Linked DNA regions of Homo sapiens: regions 1, 2, 3 and 5 are each linked to region 4. Evidence: promoter capture Hi-C in 16 types of primary human blood cells and fetal thymus (Javierre and others, 2016). All regions are on one chromosome and are shown on one strand. The core of a region is centred on a gene start or on the middle of the fragment in contact, and the rest is flanking DNA. Distances in the headings are between cores, read along the strand shown.

What was found. Contacts are between HindIII fragments. The CHiCAGO score rates a contact against its expected background, and 5 or more counts as called.
Region 1: a contact is called between a fragment that was not itself captured here and the fragment with the promoter of CYB5R4 in region 4, in 3 of 17 cell types (megakaryocytes, erythroblasts and fetal thymus). The highest score is 8.0, in megakaryocytes.
Region 2: a fragment that was not itself captured here is called in contact with the fragment with the promoter of CYB5R4 in region 4 in 1 of 17 cell types (naive B cells); the score reaches 5.5 in naive B cells.
Region 3: a contact is called between a fragment that was not itself captured here and the fragment with the promoter of CYB5R4 in region 4, in 3 of 17 cell types (total CD4 T cells, total B cells and naive B cells). The highest score is 6.1, in total CD4 T cells.
Region 5: a contact is called between a fragment that was not itself captured here and the fragment with the promoter of CYB5R4 in region 4, in 1 of 17 cell types (total B cells). The highest score is 5.8, in total B cells.

What each region holds. Positions count from the first base shown.
Region 1 is chr6:84,772,728-84,776,571 of GRCh38, forward strand. It overlaps LOC124901494 (a long non-coding RNA gene), which reads left to right and starts at 1,079. Exons shown (of 2, transcript XR_007059927.1): 1 at 1,079-1,325. RefSeq lists an enhancer at 325-939 and a silencer at 2,090-2,239. The HindIII fragment of the contact is 3,598 bases long and covers 1-3,157 here.
Region 2 is chr6:83,165,292-83,168,775 of GRCh38, forward strand. It overlaps DOP1A (DOP1 leucine zipper like protein A), which reads left to right. Exons shown (of 39, transcript NM_015018.4): 39 at 2,571-3,180. The coding sequence ends at 2,876. PGM3 (phosphoglucomutase 3) reads right to left here. Exons shown (of 13, transcript NM_015599.3): 13 at 1-3,484. Among named protein-coding and RNA genes, the nearest start is that of PGM3, 26 kb to the right of the region's middle. The HindIII fragment of the contact is 894 bases long and covers 1,435-2,328 here.
Region 3 is chr6:83,209,463-83,213,017 of GRCh38, forward strand. It overlaps ME1 (malic enzyme 1), which reads right to left. Exons shown (of 14, transcript NM_002395.6): 14 at 940-2,632. The coding sequence ends at 2,462. Among named protein-coding and RNA genes, the nearest start is that of RWDD2A, 18 kb to the left of the region's middle. The HindIII fragment of the contact is 3,037 bases long and covers 316-3,352 here.
Region 4 is chr6:83,858,198-83,861,962 of GRCh38, forward strand. CYB5R4 (cytochrome b5 reductase 4) reads left to right here and starts at 1,492. Exons shown (of 16, transcript NM_016230.4): 1 at 1,492-1,660. The coding sequence starts at 1,586. All of the region lies in intron 3 of RIPPLY2-CYB5R4 (RIPPLY2-CYB5R4 readthrough), which reads left to right. RefSeq lists a silencer at 1,563-1,612. The HindIII fragment of the contact is 3,476 bases long and covers 1-2,697 here.
Region 5 is chr6:83,083,408-83,087,054 of GRCh38, forward strand. All of the region lies in intron 1 of DOP1A (DOP1 leucine zipper like protein A), which reads left to right. Among named protein-coding and RNA genes, the nearest start is that of DOP1A, 18 kb to the left of the region's middle. RefSeq lists an enhancer at 3,437-3,586. The HindIII fragment of the contact is 466 bases long and covers 1,753-2,218 here.

The DNA of each region.
Region 1 (3,844 bases), core at 109-2,608, 910 kb after region 4:
AGAGTCAGTTATTTTTATGTCTGACTGTATTTCACATGTGCAGGGTGATAAATAAAATCCGTCTCAAGCTACAAACTATCTGAGTGTGATGAGGAACAATCGACAAAAATTAACCCAGCCAAAGCGTTGGGGTTCAAGCGAGCGACTGGACCATAAATCAGCGTCGCGGTGGCGTCGGGAAGCTGAGCGCTCGGAGGTGCACTCAGCTGCCTCTGGGTTCGCCCAGTCCGAGAGCGGGGCTCCGCCGCGGGAGCCCGGGCAGGAATCGGACTCCGCCAGGGGTTCGGAGTCTTCTGGGGAAAGGGCGTGTTGGGAGAGAAAGGCAAGCCCACGCAGGAGCGACCTCCTAATTAATTCATCATCGAGAATTCTCCAGTGGGGTGTGTGTGTGTGTGTGTGTGTGTGTGTGTGTGTGTAAAATCAAAAAAGACTTGGGAGGCAAACTTGGGTGGGAAGCACTGAGGAAGGCGAAACAATTCCCAACTTATCTGGATCCCAGACGAGTCCCTCTGATTGCTTAAGTCACTAGAAAAGGAGATTCGTCTCAGCGATTAACAATGATACCCTTTTTAAGAGAGATCAAAGAAGGCGCCTAGGGAAGCTCTACAACGCGGCTTCTTGGAGTTCTGAGGCCGCCTGCGCATTCACTTTCCAGTGTAAGCCCCCGCTCCGGAATCCCGGCTCCAGCCCAGCCCGCGCCCCCTTCCCTGGAAAGACCTGGCCGGCCGCGCCCCCGAACCCCCGAGGCGTGGGTGTCAGGCTAAGCGGGGCTGGTCCGACCGGTCGCTTCCAGCTCTCTCCACCTGTTGGAAAGCCCAGGCCCAAGAACCGCGCCAGCGGCGGCAGCACGTCACTCGGCGGCCACGGGGAGTCAGGGAGCGCGGAACGCGGGTTTCTGTTGATAAGTGCAAAGTACGGCCCTCTCGGTGCTAAGTGCACAGTAAGTGCGAAGAATAAATACATCATCTCCCGGGGCGGCTGTCTCGAAAACGCCTCTCAGCTGCCTGCGTTTCAGAGCCCGTCAAGGGTTATAGCTTAGTGTGGGCGTCCGCGCCGCGCCTGCGCCTCCGAGCGCCGGCCGAGAAGGGCGCGCAGCCACAGCCACCACATGCCACTAGCCCCGCAAGGCGCCTGACTCCTCTAAGGGGAACTCGTAATGCTCACCAAAAGCCTCAGAAACCCTGGAACCTATAAGACCGCACCACCGCGCAAACGGTGTCCCGGGCTGCGCTCCCGCACTGCACCGGCAGCCTATGAGGCGAGGCCAACCCGGAGACTGCGCGCGACGGGCGTGCGTGCGTGCGCCCGCAGATTCGCTTCAGGCGGTAGGTGTGGAGTACCTGGGCAGCTCCGGCGGGAATGGTGTTGGGGAGAAGGAGCTGTCATTCATAGTCTTCTACATATCTGAATAAAGAATTGCTTTTTAAAAATAGGTTCAGAGCCTAGTGAGTGAAAACTTAAAAGTCCCCGCGAGGAGCTCTAGTTCCCGGGCGGCGCGGCCCCGACTTTCTCGTCGGTAGCGCTCTGGCCTTGGGCGCCCGCCGCTTTGGCTATGGAGGTACAGTGGCCGCGTCCCGGGGAGCCTGGGCCTCCTTGCGGCTCCGAGCCTCCGCGGCGCCCGCGCCCCGACTCTCCGGTCCCGGCTCTCTCCAGGCCCGGCTGTCTCCGGTCCCTCACTGACTTCGCCAGCCGCACCACCCACCTCTTTCTCCCGCAGACGTAAACCCGAATACGCCCCGGCCTTGGGCCTAGGGCCTCGGCCTCGCCTGGCTCTACAGGATTCGGGGGCGGGGTAGGCCGGCAGAGCTCAGCTCGCGCCGTGGGTCCACATGTTTTTATTTCGTGACCCTGACCGCGTCCCGGCCATAACTTCCTCTGCGTTACAACGGGGATAATAATCCCCGGCCGGCCTGCCGGATGGTGGCGGGATAATATATCCCGGTGAGGGAAGGACCGAGCTTGGCAGAGACACTTAACTGTCCCACTGTGTGGCTGTTCACAGTCCGCCCAGATTTAGGGGTGGGATGGGGGGTTTTCGGGCCCCGGCCTGCTCCCCCTCTCCAGACCCCGCAGAAAGGGGTTCATGGGCAATTAGGTTCCGCTGGACTCGCCGGGCTGCGGGCGGGTGAGCGCCGCCGGGCACCGGGCGGGGGCACGTGGCGCCCTCTGGGGACCGTCCGCCGCACTGCCTGGCGTCCTGCCTGGGGAGGCGCAGCCTAGCCCAGCACCTCCCGCCGTCTCAGGCTCGGAGGAGCTCTGTACCTGGCTCCGCGCTGACCCCTCCACCTGGCTGAAGGCAGCAGCCCTGGGAGACTCTGGCACTCTGGGCCGGAGCAGGAGCTGTGCCCCATGGCAACCCAGACTGAAAGGGAAGCCCTGTCTGTTGCTCTTTGCTGCGGATTCGAGGGAGGCCGTCTCGAGTCGCTCAGAAGCGACCTAAAGAAGGCACTGGCCTCTGTGCGCCGAACCTCCACGAGATAGACTAAGTCTCCCAACCGTTTACAAAAATATGAAGCCATCTGGAAAAGCGAGCAACCACATGGATGGAGGGAAACAATTAAAAATAAAAGGTAATTAGGAGGAGGGACCTGAAAGGAATATTAACGTAAATGTTCTTTGCGCTTGAGTGTGAGATAACCCCAGATTTTATTTTATGAATTTCTGTCTAAACCTCAGAATTTTAATGGAACAAACGAACCAACCGACAAACAAAAATGCCAAGTATCCTCAAGCCCTGGCCAGCTAAGGGATATTTCCCAGTCAAGTTCCCAAGACCCATTACCGTTATCATCGCTCCATGTAGTGGTGGATGAATGAGCAACTCCTCCATTGCATTTCCATTTAAAATCCCAGGACACTCCACCTGTAACTTTCTTTGACTTCTCTCATTAGTGAAGTTATTTTTGCCCCCCCCACTTTTTTTTTTGTTTAGAAGGGCACATTTCACAAGTTTATCAGTAAATCAACTGTTTCAAACTGCCCCCATCTTGAATGATAGCTGACCAAAAAAAAAACAAAAGCAAAGTAAAGGCATATAGGGTGGTGATCTAAAGTGCTTACGGACTCTCAGTTGCATAGTTATTTCTAAGGCTTCATTTTTTACAAAATGAAACATTTTGGGGCAGTTACAGTTACATTAGTACATGTTGTGGAAATAAGCTTGCATTTAGGGAAAAATTATTAGAAACAGCTGTGATGTTAATGATTCAAAACCCAAAGTACTCAGTATGCTTAGTATCTACTTTTCATCATATTTTTTGTGTGCATCCACATAATGCATACTCTCTGTGTGTAATACAAGACACTTGTTTAATAAAGCAAACGATTGTCTGTGTCAGGGAGATTTGGTCCTCTCTGCCTCTCCCAGTCCATGTGCAGAACAGATCAAAGACCCGAAGTACCTCTGTCTTTCCAAAGGCAGCCAGATGGTGTCTTGATTTTTCTTCAGAATTTTTTTTAGCAATAGAATTCAAAGGATTAAAGAATCTGTGTGATGCTACAGATGAAAGCCCTACCCAGGTAAATTACCTTTCTTTTTAATGTCATGCATACCTTACCTTATTCCACTAAGGTTTTGAGAAGTCTCTGGAGAATACATATAATAAATATGTAAATGGTGAGTAAATGATTAAAACCGGGTAAAACTGAAATCACAATCCAGAGTCAAGATTAGAAGAAAATAAGAACTCTGATATGCATGGAAAATACTAGATAGTTGTTAAAGAGGAACTTTAAATTTGTCTCAGAGCTTCCTAGCAGCAAAAGTAAAAAGCAAAACATTACCCAATCAAAAGACAAGAAGAAATCATATCAGTTACTTACAGAAAGCAATATATTCCCTAAG
Region 2 (3,484 bases), core at 632-3,131, 690 kb before region 4:
GCTAAATAATTGCTAGGAAGCAAACTTAAGTGATAGCTGTTAAGTTTTTTGGTTTGTTTTTGACCAGAGATGATGAAGTAGGTGATCTTTTCTTGGTTTGCTCCTAGACTCTTCCATTTTAACTTATATTTTTAGTTTGGTGCAAAAGTAATTGCTGTTTGGGACCATGAATTTTAAGTCATTATAACTAGGTTCACACAAATCTTTATTAATTAAAATAGGAACCATTACAATCAACACATTTTTGCCAATGAGAAATAAGTTTGTTTACTCCTGTAGCATAAAAATCCATGCTTCCAAATTTGACGAACTCTTGGAAAGCATTTTCTGTGTCCTGCTAGTTGTGGAAGCAATTTCCCTGCAAAACGTTGCTGAGATGCCTAAAGAAGTGGTAGTTTGTTGGCAAGAGGTCAGGTGAATATGGCAGATGAGGCAAAACTTCATAGCCCAATTAGTTCAATTTTCGAAGCGTTGGTTGTGCAACGTGCGGCCCAGTGTTGTCGTGAAAAGAATTGGGCCCTTTCTGGTGGCCAATGCCGGCTGCAGGCATTGCAGTTTTTGGTGCATCTCATTGATTTGCTGAGCATACTTATCAGATGTAATGGTTTCACCTGGATTCAGAAAGCTGTAGTGGATCAGACTGGCAGCAAACCACCAAACAATGACCATGACCATTTTTTGGAGCAAGTTTGGCTTTGGGAAGTGCTTTGGAGCTTCTTTCAGTCCAGCCACTGAGCTGGTCATCGCCAGTTGTCGTATAAAATCCACCTTTTGGCACACATCACAATCCGATAGAGAAATGATTCATTATTGTTGCATAGAATAGAGAAAATGACACTTCAAAACAACGAATTTTTTTATTTTTCACTCAGCTCATGAGGCACCCATTTATTGAGCTTTTTCACCTTTTCAATTTGCTTCAAATGCCGAACGACCATAAAATGGTCAACATTGAGTTCTTGGGCAGCTCTCTTATAGTTGTAAGAGGATCAGCTTCGATGATGTTCTCAATTGGTCATTATCAATTTCCGATGACTGGCCACTGCACTCCTCATCTTCAAGGCTCTAGTCTCCTTTGCAAAACTTCTTGAGCCATCACGGCACTGTATGTTCATTAGCAGTTCCTGGGCCAAATGCATTGTTGATGTTGTGTGTTGTCTCTGCTGCTTTATAACCTATTTTGAACTCAGAAAATCGCTAAATTTGATTTTTGTCTAACATCATTTCCATAGTCTAAAATAAATATAAACAGCAATAAGTCATTAGCAAAAAAAAAGTGAGAAATATGCTTAAAATGATGTATAACATAACCACATTTATTTAAGAATGTACTCCAATATAAAACGGCAAATTTCAACAATGCAAAAACCGCAATTACGTTTGCACCAACCTAATATTTTCCTTTTTCAGGATTTTACTTTAAAATAAGCAATAAGCTTGAGAGCACATAGAAGAAAATAAGCTGGATTTTGCATCTGCTTGACCCACTAGGAAACTAGTGATATTAAATTATTAGGTAAACAATGAAAGTTTCTGAGCAACATCTGATCTTAGAAGGCAAACTCCATTTGTTAATATGACAGATTGTAATTCTGCTTCCTAAGTCTTCATGATTTCTTCCTTCTGTCTAGTTCATTGCTTATTTTCATTCTTTAGTGTGGAATTGTATCTGTGATTCTGCCCAAGTTCAACCAACCTGTTCTCTCTTATCTTTCTCTAGACAGAATGATGTCTGTAGCTGTGTTTGTGTAATTCAGGTGGCTTCTCAAACTAGCCTCTTAATACCCAAATTATTAGTCTTTATATTTAGTTGACAGAGTTTTCACATACCTTCTCATTTGACTTCTCTACTAAAAGGTAGTTTTAGACTGTCCCATTTTATAAGTGAGGAACCTTTGTATATCCTGCCCAAGGGTGCCGTAAGTATGGCAGAGCCAGCACACTAACTCAATTCCTTTGACTCCAGGTCCAGCTTTCCTCCCTATGTTGTTTAGCACAACCCAGAAGGAGACAGCAGTGTCTCCTGAGGGATCCCTTCCTTTCTCTGTGATGCAGTACTGACAGTAATTATTCACTTTGGACACTGCTACCATCATGGCAAATTTAGGCCATTTAGATAAAAGGGAATTAACTAATTATAATAAAAGGGGATATATTATGAAATGTATAAAGCACTTTGTTCCTTTTTTCTGTAGTAATTTTGTGACCTAGTCCTTGGTTACAGTAGTGAGGGTTCAGAAACCTGGGAGCTTTTTGAGTAAATACAAAGCACAACATAAAACTTTTATGTTTGACTCTATTCCTGTTCAAAGCTATTTCTGTTAACTAAGCTTATCTGCGCATTCTAGTTGGGAACTATTACTACAATGTTAGACTGCTCCATGTAAAACTAATAAATGGCAGTAAAAGGTCTCAGAAGCACCAAGGGTTTTGATCAGGTCAGGAGTTAGAAACTTAATGTCATTTGTATTCATTTCTTGACCAATTGCCAAAGTTTATATATTTTTAATTTTTCTAACATACCACATTGTCTGTTGTATTAATACCAGTTCACTTTTTGTTTTCTGCAGAAAAATCCAGAGGAAGACAACTCAGGGAGAACATTGGGTTGGGAGCCAGGGCACTTGCTGCTCACCATCTGCACCGTGCGCAGTATGGAGCAGCTCCTGCCGTTCTTCAATGTGCTCAGTCAAGTCTTCAACAGCAAAGTCACAAGCCGATGTGGAGGACACTCAGGGAGTCCTATCCTCTACTCAAATGCCTTCCCTAATAAGGACATGAAACTGGAGAACCACAAACCATGTTCCAGCAAAGCCAGGCAAAAAATAGAAGAGATGGTAGAAAAAGATTTTCTGGAAGGGATGATAAAAACTTGAGCACCATTGCTGGTTCCATTTAGCTTACATGTAAATGTAATTATTTAAAACACACACACTGCTCTGCGTTGTATAGTTTTTCCTTTTTTGTATGTAACAGAACACATTTCAGATTGTATTTAATTTAAATATTTGTATATAAGAGCAAATGTCTGAATGTGGCCTGAATCAAGTTTAAATATTGTTGGCTCATACTGATTATGGTGCCTAAGAGAGCTATATATATACACATGTAAAGTCCATTGTTTTTATTGTCCTGAGTTGTCTTAAACCTGCAAAATATACACTACCCATTTTTTTTTTCCATTGGTTTCAGACTTGGTTCAATTAAGATTGGTTGGGGATTTTTCTCTTTTCCTTATTAACCATGTTCTGGTATCAGAATGGTGTTCCTTCTCCATCAGAGGCTGGGAAACGTATTATAATTAGTTTTTCTCCCACATACCTTCACCAAGAGCAGTGAAGAATAACTGAAGGCTGGACCATGCATCCTTAAAAGTATTGCATGAGCATCTCCACCTCAGTATGGAAGAGGGATGGACAACCCCCTATTCATACCTCTGAGTTCCTGATGGCATTAGTCATATAGGTAAGTCATCTAATAATCT
Region 3 (3,555 bases), core at 584-3,083, 650 kb before region 4:
CTCGCCAGATGTGGCTACTGAGACCTGTGGCTAGTCTGAACTGAATTAAAATGTAAGTGTAAAATATGTGCTGGATTTCGAAGAAAATATGAACAAAATAAACTATCTTAATAATTTTATGATGATTACATGTTGCAGTGGTAATATTTTGGATATATTGGTTTAAACAAAATATATTATTACCATGAATTCCACCTGTGTCTTTTTTTTATGATGCTACTACAAAATTTAAAATTACACATGGGACAGTGCTGTTCTAGACTGTAGCCTATGGAAAGGAGAACAAACTATAAAGAAAGATGAATATGGATGTAAAGCTTACTTTCTTCAGTTATTCTGTGGACTTGGCAAGTTACTTAAAATATCAACTTCATAAGGAAAGTGAGGGGACTACATTAAAATAATGTATGTGGGATACTTGACACCTAGTAAGTAACTATCTAATGCTTATTTCATTATCTTTCCCTGAGGACAAGGAAGTGGCTCACACATCACAGTGTCCAGAATATGTGATTACATATATATATTTTTTTTTTTCTGAGACAGAGTCTTACTCCATCCCCCAGGCTGGAGTGCAGTGGCATGATCTTGGTTCACTGCAACGTCCAGTGCAAGCGATTCTCGTGCCTCAGCCTCCCAAGTAGCTGGGATTACAGGCATGAGCCACCAAGCCCAGCTAATTTTTATAGTTTTTAGTAGAGATAGGGTTTCACCAGGTTGGCCAGGCTAGTCTTGAACTCCTGACCTCAGGTGATCTGCCTGTCTCAGCCTCCCAAAGTGCCAGGATTACAGGCGTGAGCCACTGTGCCCAGCCACATATGTTTTAAATGAATGATGTTTATACTGAAATTAGCAGTTATTAGAATATTTTAGAAATTCGTCACACATAATCATATGACCCCAAGACCAAGCATTACAATGTAACATTTTAAGAAAAAGGACAATTATTTTATATTTTTATTCATTCACCTTTTCTATGCTTTAATAAATCTTTTGCATAGGTAAACACATTTAGTCAGAGCTATAAGACAACATAGAAACAGACAAGAAATACACAGACATTCTGATTCTTCTCCAAATAACTATTTTGAGGAAACTCTTGACTATATGTTACCTTTAGAAATACCTTAACCTCTTCTGCTCATACCTAAAACAATTTGTGTAACCTTCAACTTTCAATAAAATCATTTTATAGTATAATTTATCTTGAATATCTTATACTCCTTAAAGCATTACTTCAAAAACAAAATTCTTCAAATAATTCTATAAATAAGTAGCAAATGTTATTGCACCTTAGCTTTATAATTTAAAATTTTTTCCATTACTTCAAACATTAGTTTCTAAAGTAAATTAATACAGTCTGGGCATATAACTACTCTTTCTCATAGAATGGTATTAGTCATCAAGATATTTTAATCTTATGTAAGGACATTTCTGATACTGGGAACTTAATTATAATACTTTCTCCAAATTCAGGCAAAAGCAAGATGATTATAACACAGTTAGCTCTTCATTACCTGAGTTAATTAAGAGGCCATTCTGGCAGGTAACTCCAGTAGGAACCTAACTTGTTGTCTTAAAGATCCTGAGATCTTTAAGAGGTCAGTTCCTCAGGCAGCCCTTTCTCAAGGATCTTAACTATATACTCTCCTTTCAGACCTTCTCACTGCTCAGGCTGTGCTGAACTGAAGGTGCCAACCTCGGGACAGGGGCCACAGTCCACAAAATCCCTGTAGCAACAGTATGGTAGCTGAAGGATGGGATGTTTGATCAAGGGGGAAAAAAGGTGATTTCAGGTGGGATTTCTGACTCAGGATCAAGGTAATAAGAGCTTTACTCTATGAGATGTAACAATGACAAAAGAATATTAAAATCTAAGGCTGCACAAGGCGCTGTAAACAGCAGTGATCTTTCTCTTAGAACTGTTAGAATTCCGTTGCACAAAAGAACATATATGATCTAGGACTGGAATAAAAATACTTGAGAAGTTATCTTTCTCTAGGCAACAAAGTAGTGTTATTTCTGCTTAGCAAAAGTTCACCTACGCCTAGATTCATTTCTAGCTTTTTTTTTTTGAAAAGTAGATTTTAACAAAATGGTCAACAAAATAATTATGAGTTTTAATGTTGGTTATGTCAATTTATTAGTAATTTTGGTCTTCCCATTAGTGTCCTGTATAAAAATGATGAGTTTCTCCGTAGTACGTACAACAGCTTTTAAAGAGAACGTAGGCAGAATAATTCAGACAGAAACCATAAATAACCAGAAGGCAAAGTGAAGCAAAATTGTCTCATGTGATGTTTATCCCAATTTATATCGATATTCTTCTATCAATTTTTAGACTGTTAAAGTAAAATCTTAATCTAAGTGTCTTATGAATCATTATAAAAGATTCCAACCTTTAAAAATTATGAAAGGTTTAAAGACCTCATTAATAGAGTTAGAAATGTTTGCTATTATCCTACTGGTCAACTTTGGTCTGTATTTTCTGCACCTCTTCAGGCCAAGAATAACAATCAGGTAGAATCTGGTCATAATCAGTACTATACATCTGGGAGCGGACAAATGCTTCTTTGTTTTGCGGTTCAGGATAAACTGTGGCTGTCTTTTCTTGGTATGCATCTTTCACAATCTAGATATAAGAAAAGAATATTAATTATTTTAATAAATAGAGGTAATCATGAGCCCATGTGAGTGGAAGTTTTTATCCATTTCAAAAACACTGTATCCTATGTTTGCAAAAACATTAAGTGTATTATAATAAAAGCACATATAAGCAATGAAGATATAAAATGAAAATGCAATTATAAATCATATAGTGAGAGAGAAAAATGACATCAGCAACTAAGGAAAGTGTGACCAGGTGAGACTGATTCAAGTACTATCACATCTGGATTTCTCAGAGAAGCCAGTGTTCAAAGTCTTGACATGACCTGACTGACAATTAACTTGAAATAAATACCTAAATAGTCCTGCTAAACTTGAACCTTGAATTTTCAAGAATCCCTATTCTCACCACAGCCTCCTACAAAATCTCTTCCTGTACCCCAGGGTCTCCTGATCTTGCTCAGCTAATCATCTAGACACCACAGTCAGGATGAGCACTCTTTGCCAGCGTCACAGATTCTCTGGTCATCACGCCCTGTGTTTCATGCATAATTCTAGTCCCTCGTCTGGGGACCCCTCAGAGCTGGCTTTCTCCTTTTGTGGCTGTGCATCCTAGAACGATGCAGTAAACTTTCTGTGGTGCTATATTTTTTTTCTAGTCTGCACATTATACTTTTTTCTCTCTTTACTTAAAACTTCCTCTTGTGGTTCCCAAAAAGCAATTCCAAACCTTCCCCCATCTTCAAGCTTCCATTTGACTCTCATCACTCACTGGAGAATCACATCATCATATCACATCATGGGAGAAAATTTCAACTACTCAGAGAAAATGACCTTAATTTCCCTTTTGACCAACTCAGACTATCTCCTCAGTGTCTTCATACATCTTCTCTTTCCCTACTTTCTTTAAATGGATTCTCTTCATCAAAATTAATCACTTCATATATA
Region 4 (3,765 bases), core at 242-2,741:
TCCTTGCTCTGGTTCTCTGCTTTTGATATTCTTATGTAAAAGTTTTCTCACGAGAAGTGAAATAAATCTCAGTGATTAGTTTTTCTTGTGTAGACTCTAGAAGAATATGTCATCATTTAATGAGAGAGAACACAGAAGCAATTTGCAAAGTCAAAGTAATACAGTTAATTATAGTCATGAGGTTCTTTTAGCTCAAATTCAGTCTTCTCATAATAAGCATTTCAATTGCAAATAAAAATGGATAGAGGTGAATGTCATAGGTGGCTACCTTATTTGAATGCTTGTATTTGAATGGCCACATATAGTCACACACTTTTTCTTCTGATTCTGCAAACATAACCTTGATTTTTTAGGCACTTTAAGAACTAAGTAGTTAAACAGAGAAAGTTTAAAGCATGACAATATGTTCAGAGTTAGGAAAAATTAGTAATTAAAGGAGGATGGGGAGGATTATTTAGAACTATGTTTCTTCTCCTGAAAACTTTCTCCCTTATTGGATTCTACTCTCAAGATCTATGTGTTCCCCAAGGGACACACAAAACAATCAATCAAACAAACAAAAACCATCAGATTTTGAGCATTAGAGCCTGGTGTTTACCTGCACAGTGTTGGTCCTTTTCCCATTAATATGTTGGAATAGCACAAACAGCCACTGCCACTTATTCAGTACCTAATATTAATCAGGCACTGCAGTATGTAGTTTACACATGATCCTTTAATCTTTAATAAACCCATTATGCAGATGGGGAAAATGAGACTTTGAGATACTAAAGTAACTTGCATAAGACAGCTCAGTCATTAAGTGCAGGGATGGCATGCAAACCAAATCTGACTTTTAAACGTTACTTCATCACCACAGCTGGAGGTGAGCTGCATCAGTACACAATTCCCAGTGAAGACAGGAAGTTACATAAGGAGGGAGAATTTGTGAGTGGGTGAATAGAGCAGAAGGTGACTTTACTAACGTCTTTCGCGCATTCATTAGCCCTCAGCATGCTTAAAGGTGAAGTTTAAGGATGATTAAAGGTGAGGTTTTCTTCTTACCCCACAGTAGTGGCTGTTGACATTTGATATTTTTGCTCTTAAAGGTGTGAGATGCTCTTTGCATTACAGCCTAGTGCCTTACAGGAAAGAATTTCAGAGAAACTAAAATTCGTTTTAGTCCATATTTCAAGTAGTGTGTTTTAGTCCATATTTCAAGTAGTGTGATGGTACTGCTTAACAATGAACAGACATTGCTGTTCCGGGTTAACAGGACTAAGAATTTGTTCCCACATTCGGTCAGCACCAAGGCTAAGGAACAGCTTCACTCTCTAATCTTTCCACGAAATAGCTGTCACCTTGCTCCGGTGCTGAAGTTCGGGATGCGGAACTAGCTGAGCATGCGTACTTCCTCCCTGCCGGCCCTCCCTCCGTCCCGTTGGCTCCGCCCTCCGCGGACGTGCTGCGTCAGAATGCGCCTCACCCCTGGCGACCCCGGAAGTGGGTCGGGGGCTTGGCCTCTGCCCGGCCACAGAGCCGGAGCTGGAGGTGCTGTCCCGTCTGGCGGCGATCCCCGGGCAGGGCCCGGGGCCGGGGTTTGAAGATGCTGAACGTCCCTTCCCAGTCTTTCCCGGCCCCCAGGTCGCAGCAGCGTGTCGCCTCCGGGGGGCGTAGCAAGGTAAGCGGGTGGCTCCGTGAGTCTCTCCCCTCGCTGCGTTTCGAGCTCTGGCAGTGTGTTCTCTTCTTCCGCCCCAACTCCCAGCTCCTGCACCCCTCTCTAAGCTGTCGTTCCCTGCTGTCCTTGCCTGCAACCTCTTTCTGATCCCACTTTGTCTACAGTCCCTAAACTCTCCTTACCTCCTCCCTTTCCCCTAGCAGTCCCTCTTCTTTCTGGTCCTTTATCCCGCTCTATCCGTTCCCTTCCTCCAAGTCCTTTCCCGCGATTTAAATTTATATGACAGAGCCAGGCACTGTGTTTGCGGTATTATAGGCTCTCGGTATTAGCCGCCTTCCCTCAACCTCATCTTCTCCCTGGTCTTTTGTTCTTCACTGCCTGAAGGAGTTGTACCACATCACTCGATGTGGGTTCCCTCGCAGGAGGGAAAGGCTTGGCAGTGGCGACAGTGACCGTCCGTGCAAGGATGGGGACTTCTGGAGTTGGGGAGCTAGGTCAGGTTTACAGACACTATCCAAGACATACTGCCTTTCTTTCTTCCTCTGGTACCTGATTGTTTTGTCATTGCCTTTTCTACTAGTATCACTTGCTAACTTCGAAGCAAATATAATAATACTCTTGAGTTCTTGTTGAGCACAGTTGCTGTTAGCAACAGGTGGAATACTGTACAGATATATTTTATATTTGCAGAATTCAATAAAAATTGTGTTCTTTGTTCTTTTGCGAATGTTGTTTGTTCCTATTTGTTAGTTCCTCATTCTGTAACCATATCTTTATCTTTCGTTTGTGACACTTCCACTTAACTTGGGCCACTCGGTTAACTCTTGAGTCTTAGCATCGTTTGGAACCCTTATCGATTTTCTTATTTTTCTCCACTTAGACCTGGCGTTCTGATTCTAGTTCAGAATGAATATAGGTTCAGGGATCTGTGGTTTTCATTAGCTTTCCAGAGATTTCTTAAGTACTTACGGGTGGCCGTGTATATTCTCAGTGCTTTGCATGTATTAACTTTAATTTTCACAATTATCCTTTGAAGTGAAAGCTTTTATTGTCTCTATTTCGCAGAAAAGGAAACTGGCTAAGAAATATTGCCCTAAATTGCGTAGGCTTGTGTTGTGGTTCTGCTGTGAAATTTCATTTACTGATTCATATATCAATCATCTAGCCATCCAATCATGTATATTTTTCTCATTGGTTTTTGACCTATTTCTTGAAGCTAAATACTTGACTGAATAACAGTCTTTCCAGAAAGAATCTCTGAATTAGAATATGAGTTACTGCCCTTCTTCGTTAAAAATACCAACTGTGTTCTTAGCATCCATTTAAAGGAGAAAACTTAGAAGCAAAGACAAAAAGTCACACAGGGGGCGATGGCAAAGGTGAGTTTTTGGTCCAAAAAGAGAACAAAATAAGATTATTGTGCAATTCTAAGGAAAAGTCAGACTCCAGTCTTCTTCCTCTTTTCTTTGTGAAACAAGATGATGCTGAGAATGTAAAAACTGAGTCAGGTTTGGATGAAATGGGTAGAGGTTGAGAAAATAGAACCAAGTTGGGAAGGTCGTGTATTATACAAAAGGTTCTCAAATAGTGTTGTTTCATTCAACAGCATTTAGTTATAATATTGATGAGAAAAAAAATTCGTTTTGGCCAGGGCCACTGTCTTTGGAGTTTGCATGCTCTGTGTCTGCGTGGGTTTTCTCTGGGTACTCTGGTTTCCTGCTACAGCCCAAAGATATGCAAGTTAGGTTAATTGGTGTGTCTAAATGGTCCCAGTCTGTGTGAATATTGGGTGTGTATGAGTGTGCCTTGCCATAGGATGGCATCCTGTCCAAGGTCGGTTCCTGCCTTGTGCCCTGAGCTACTGGGATAGGCTCTGACTACCTGTGACATTGAACTGGAATAGTTGGGTAAATAATTATCTTACTTGTTTTTTAATTAATCTTTCTTAAATGTATATATAGCTAACATTTCTTTCAGTGTTTAATATTAGAAGTATTTTGGTCTTTATTTAGAAGTCTGGTGATGTTTTTGTGACCAGAAATATGCTGCAGGAAATTTTGTTTGTCAATTAACCCACGGTAAAATTAGTTTCGTTGTACATAGTTTAG
Region 5 (3,647 bases), core at 736-3,235, 770 kb before region 4:
AGACTTGTGGTTTAAAAAAAAAAAAAAAAGTTCAGAAAGATACTGATTAAGGGCCAATTCCAGGAGTCAGTCTGCCAGAGTTCTTCCTGGTTCTTCCTTTTATTCTCTGTGGCACCTTGAACACTAATTGCCTTATATGAACATGGATTCATGTGTATATCTACCTCATGGATGTATTGTGAAGATACATGAGATAATTCACATGAAAGGGCTTAGTATAGTGCCTGGCACAGAGTAATTTGTAAGTCAGTATCAACTGTGATTATTATCATCATCTTGAGTAATACGTGGACAATGTTTATTTGGCTACTATGCTTTGGAGACAGGATGATCCTTTGTAACTCAAGGGTATGTGCTTAAGTGTTTATTATTATGGCTGTTTGCCATTTGAAGCTTAAAGTAGAATCCCACCTACCTGCTAATGGCTCATTCCAAGTTATAAATGGTGCTTATGTTTTGTATTTTCTAAAATTAATATTTTCATATTGCTATGTGTACCAGAAATCACAGAATTTGAAATGAGAAAGAATCTGATTTTATAGCATTCAGAGACAATTTTTAATAACGTATATAATTTTGTGTATATTTACTTGGTAAAAAAAGAAATCGTAAAGTTAAATCAGCTTCACTGTCACCTTGGCAGATCTATGGGCTTTTAAACCTCTTGTGTCTTAGGTTTTTATTCGTATAGCTTTTCTGAGACCTAAAGTGAAAATATAAATAGTCATATGCTGTATAACATTTCAATGATGGCCCACCTATGTAACAGTGGTCCCGTAAGGTTTTAATACTGTATTTTACTGTACTTTTCTATTTTTAGGTACACAAATACTTACTGTTGTGTTACAGTTACCTACAGTATTCAATATATAACATGCTGTACAGGTTTGCAGCCTAGGAGCAATAGGTTATACCATATAGCCAGGATGTGTAGTAGGGTTTACCATTATGTCTGTTTAAGCATGTTCTATGAATGTTCACACAATAACTAAATCACCCAACAACACATCTCAGAACATATTCCCATCAAGCAATGCATGACTATAAATAAGTACATAAAGTATAATAAAACTTTTTCCAAATTTTTCTCCAGCTTGAGATTTGCAGCTAATTAATTTGAAAAGATTTGACTTCGACGTCTGGGAGTATCATACCTAAGTAGTTTGTTTTTTTTGTTTTGTTTTGTTTTTTTTGAGACAGAGTCTTGCTTTGTAGCCCAGGCTGGAGTACAGTGGCACCATTTTGGCTCACTGCAGCCTCTACCTCCTGGGTTCAAGCGATTCTTGTGCCTCAGCCACCCAAGAGGCTGGGATTACAGGCACGCACCACCACACCTGGCTAATTTTTGTATTTTTTTTTTTTTTTAGTAGAGATGGTTTCACCATGTTGGCCAGGCTGGTCTCGAACTCCTGGCCTCAAGTGATCTGCCTGCCTTGGCCTCCCAAAGTGCTGGGATTACAAGCATGAGCCACTGCACCCAGCCTAAATAGGATTTTTTAAATCTCCTTTCACAGGGCTGGAATGACTTCCTTCACATTTAGATAGTTATGTTTAATACAGATTAAACTGAGCCAGTTTTTTAAAAGTGTAACTGGAATGTACACATTTTTATAAATGTTCTTAGGCAATCTGTTTTTTAAAGCACTTAATAGCCATGTGAATGTATTCTGTATTTGAGGAGAGTAAGGTCAAGTGTGACTATACTAGTTAAGAAATAGAACTGTAGTTCTGCTTTTTATTTTTCTTCTACAAAGCTTTTCTCAGAAAAAACAAACGAAAATGGTTTAACTATATTGTCGTTGATAGATTAGTTCATTTATTCAGATTATATTTGAGGCCCTACTGTTTATCAGCCACTATTATGGGACTGCCGATGCAGGTATGAACAACTAAGATAAGGCTATTGACTTCATAGTATTTGCATCCCATTGAGAGATGATAGACAGGAAACAAGCAAATAAATAGGAAAATTTCAAAGTGTAACAAATGCTAATAAGGAAATAATGTGATGTTATAGGGTATGTGGTAAGAGTTTGGCCCCAGGCAGGCTACTTAGACTGATCAGAAAGAACTTTTGGTAGGGTTTGATATTACTGGAGGACGGGAAGAAATCTGTCACATAGAGTTGACCAAAGAGATTTTAAATGTAGAGAATAGCAAGAACAAAATGCCTAGAATGCAAAAAAAATTGGTGTATTTGAGTTTGGATATTATTCTAAGCTTTGTATTGGAATATTTGTATTTAGGGTATAGCTAAGATGTTGCTGTTTCTGCTGTATCAGAAGAGGTCTTATCCTTAGAGAATAATTAAGACTAGAAGGTGACCAGGACAAGCTTTGAGGAAAACCATTGATGGGTTTTTTGCGGTATTTTATGTTATGTTATGTTATGTTATGTTATGTTATGTTATGTTATGTTATGTTATGTTATTTTGAGACAGAGTCTCGCTCTATCGCCATTGACAGGTTTTAGGCAAAGGAATGACATAATGTGTCTCTGGCTTCTCTGTGGAGGATGAATTATGCAGACTCTCAAGAATAGAAGCAGGAATCAGTGGTGTGCTGGAGTGGGCTATAACTGGTTAGAATAATAGAAGAGGAAAAGTGGCAGGTATAGATTTAGGACACATCAGTTAACAGATGCTATTGGAGCTATAGGACTATAGGAGATAACCTAAAGGGAAAGAAGAGAGGAGGGTTCCTGATTGAACCTTGAAGTAAGGCTGACCCATGAATCGAAAATCCACGTATAATTTTTGACTCCCCAAAAACTTTACTAATAGCCTACTATAGACTGGAAGCCTTACTGGTAACATAAATGGTTGATTAACACATTTGTAGGTTATATGTATAATATGCTGTATTCTTATAATGAAATAAGCTAGAGAAAAGAAAATAGTAAGAAAACCATAAGAGAAAATATATGTACTGTTCATTAAGTGGAAGTGGATCATCACAAAGATCTTCATGAACCTCATTGTCTTCACTGTGAGTGGGCAGAGGAAGAGGAGGAGAAAGAAGAGAGGTTGGTCTTGCTGTCTTGGGTAGGTAGTAGAAGTGGAAGAAAATCCACGAAGAAACGGACCCATGCAACTCAAATTGCATGTTTTTCAAGACTCAGCTGTACCTCAGCATTTAAAATTGAATAGAAAAGAGAAGCCAACATAAACTGAAAAAAAGAGGCTAAGAGATAACAAACCTTGAGAGGGAAGAGTCCCGGAAGCCAAAAACAAGGTATTGAATACTGCTGAGTTGAATAAAATGAGGGGCTACAGAAGTGACCTTTGGCTTTGGTTAAAGCACATTATGGGTGATTTTTATACGGGTTTTTTTCCTGGAGGGACAGTCCCATAGGCATTTCACGGAGTCTGAAGAGTGAATAAAAGATAAGGAAAAAATAGCAAATATAGAGAAATCTTTCAGGTTTTGCTATGAGAGAATAAAGAAATGGGTTGGCAGCCAGAGAGCCTGTGGGGGTCAAGGAAAGGCTATGGGTTTTAATTTTAGTTTTAGTTTTAGTTTTAGTTTTAGACCATGAGAGATTCGGGGGGTAGACTTTAGGCTGTAGACAGGAAAAGAAACTGATAGTATTGAAGGAGCCTGAGCTAATAGTCCTTGGGAAGGCAAGAGGAGACCAGATTCAGAACA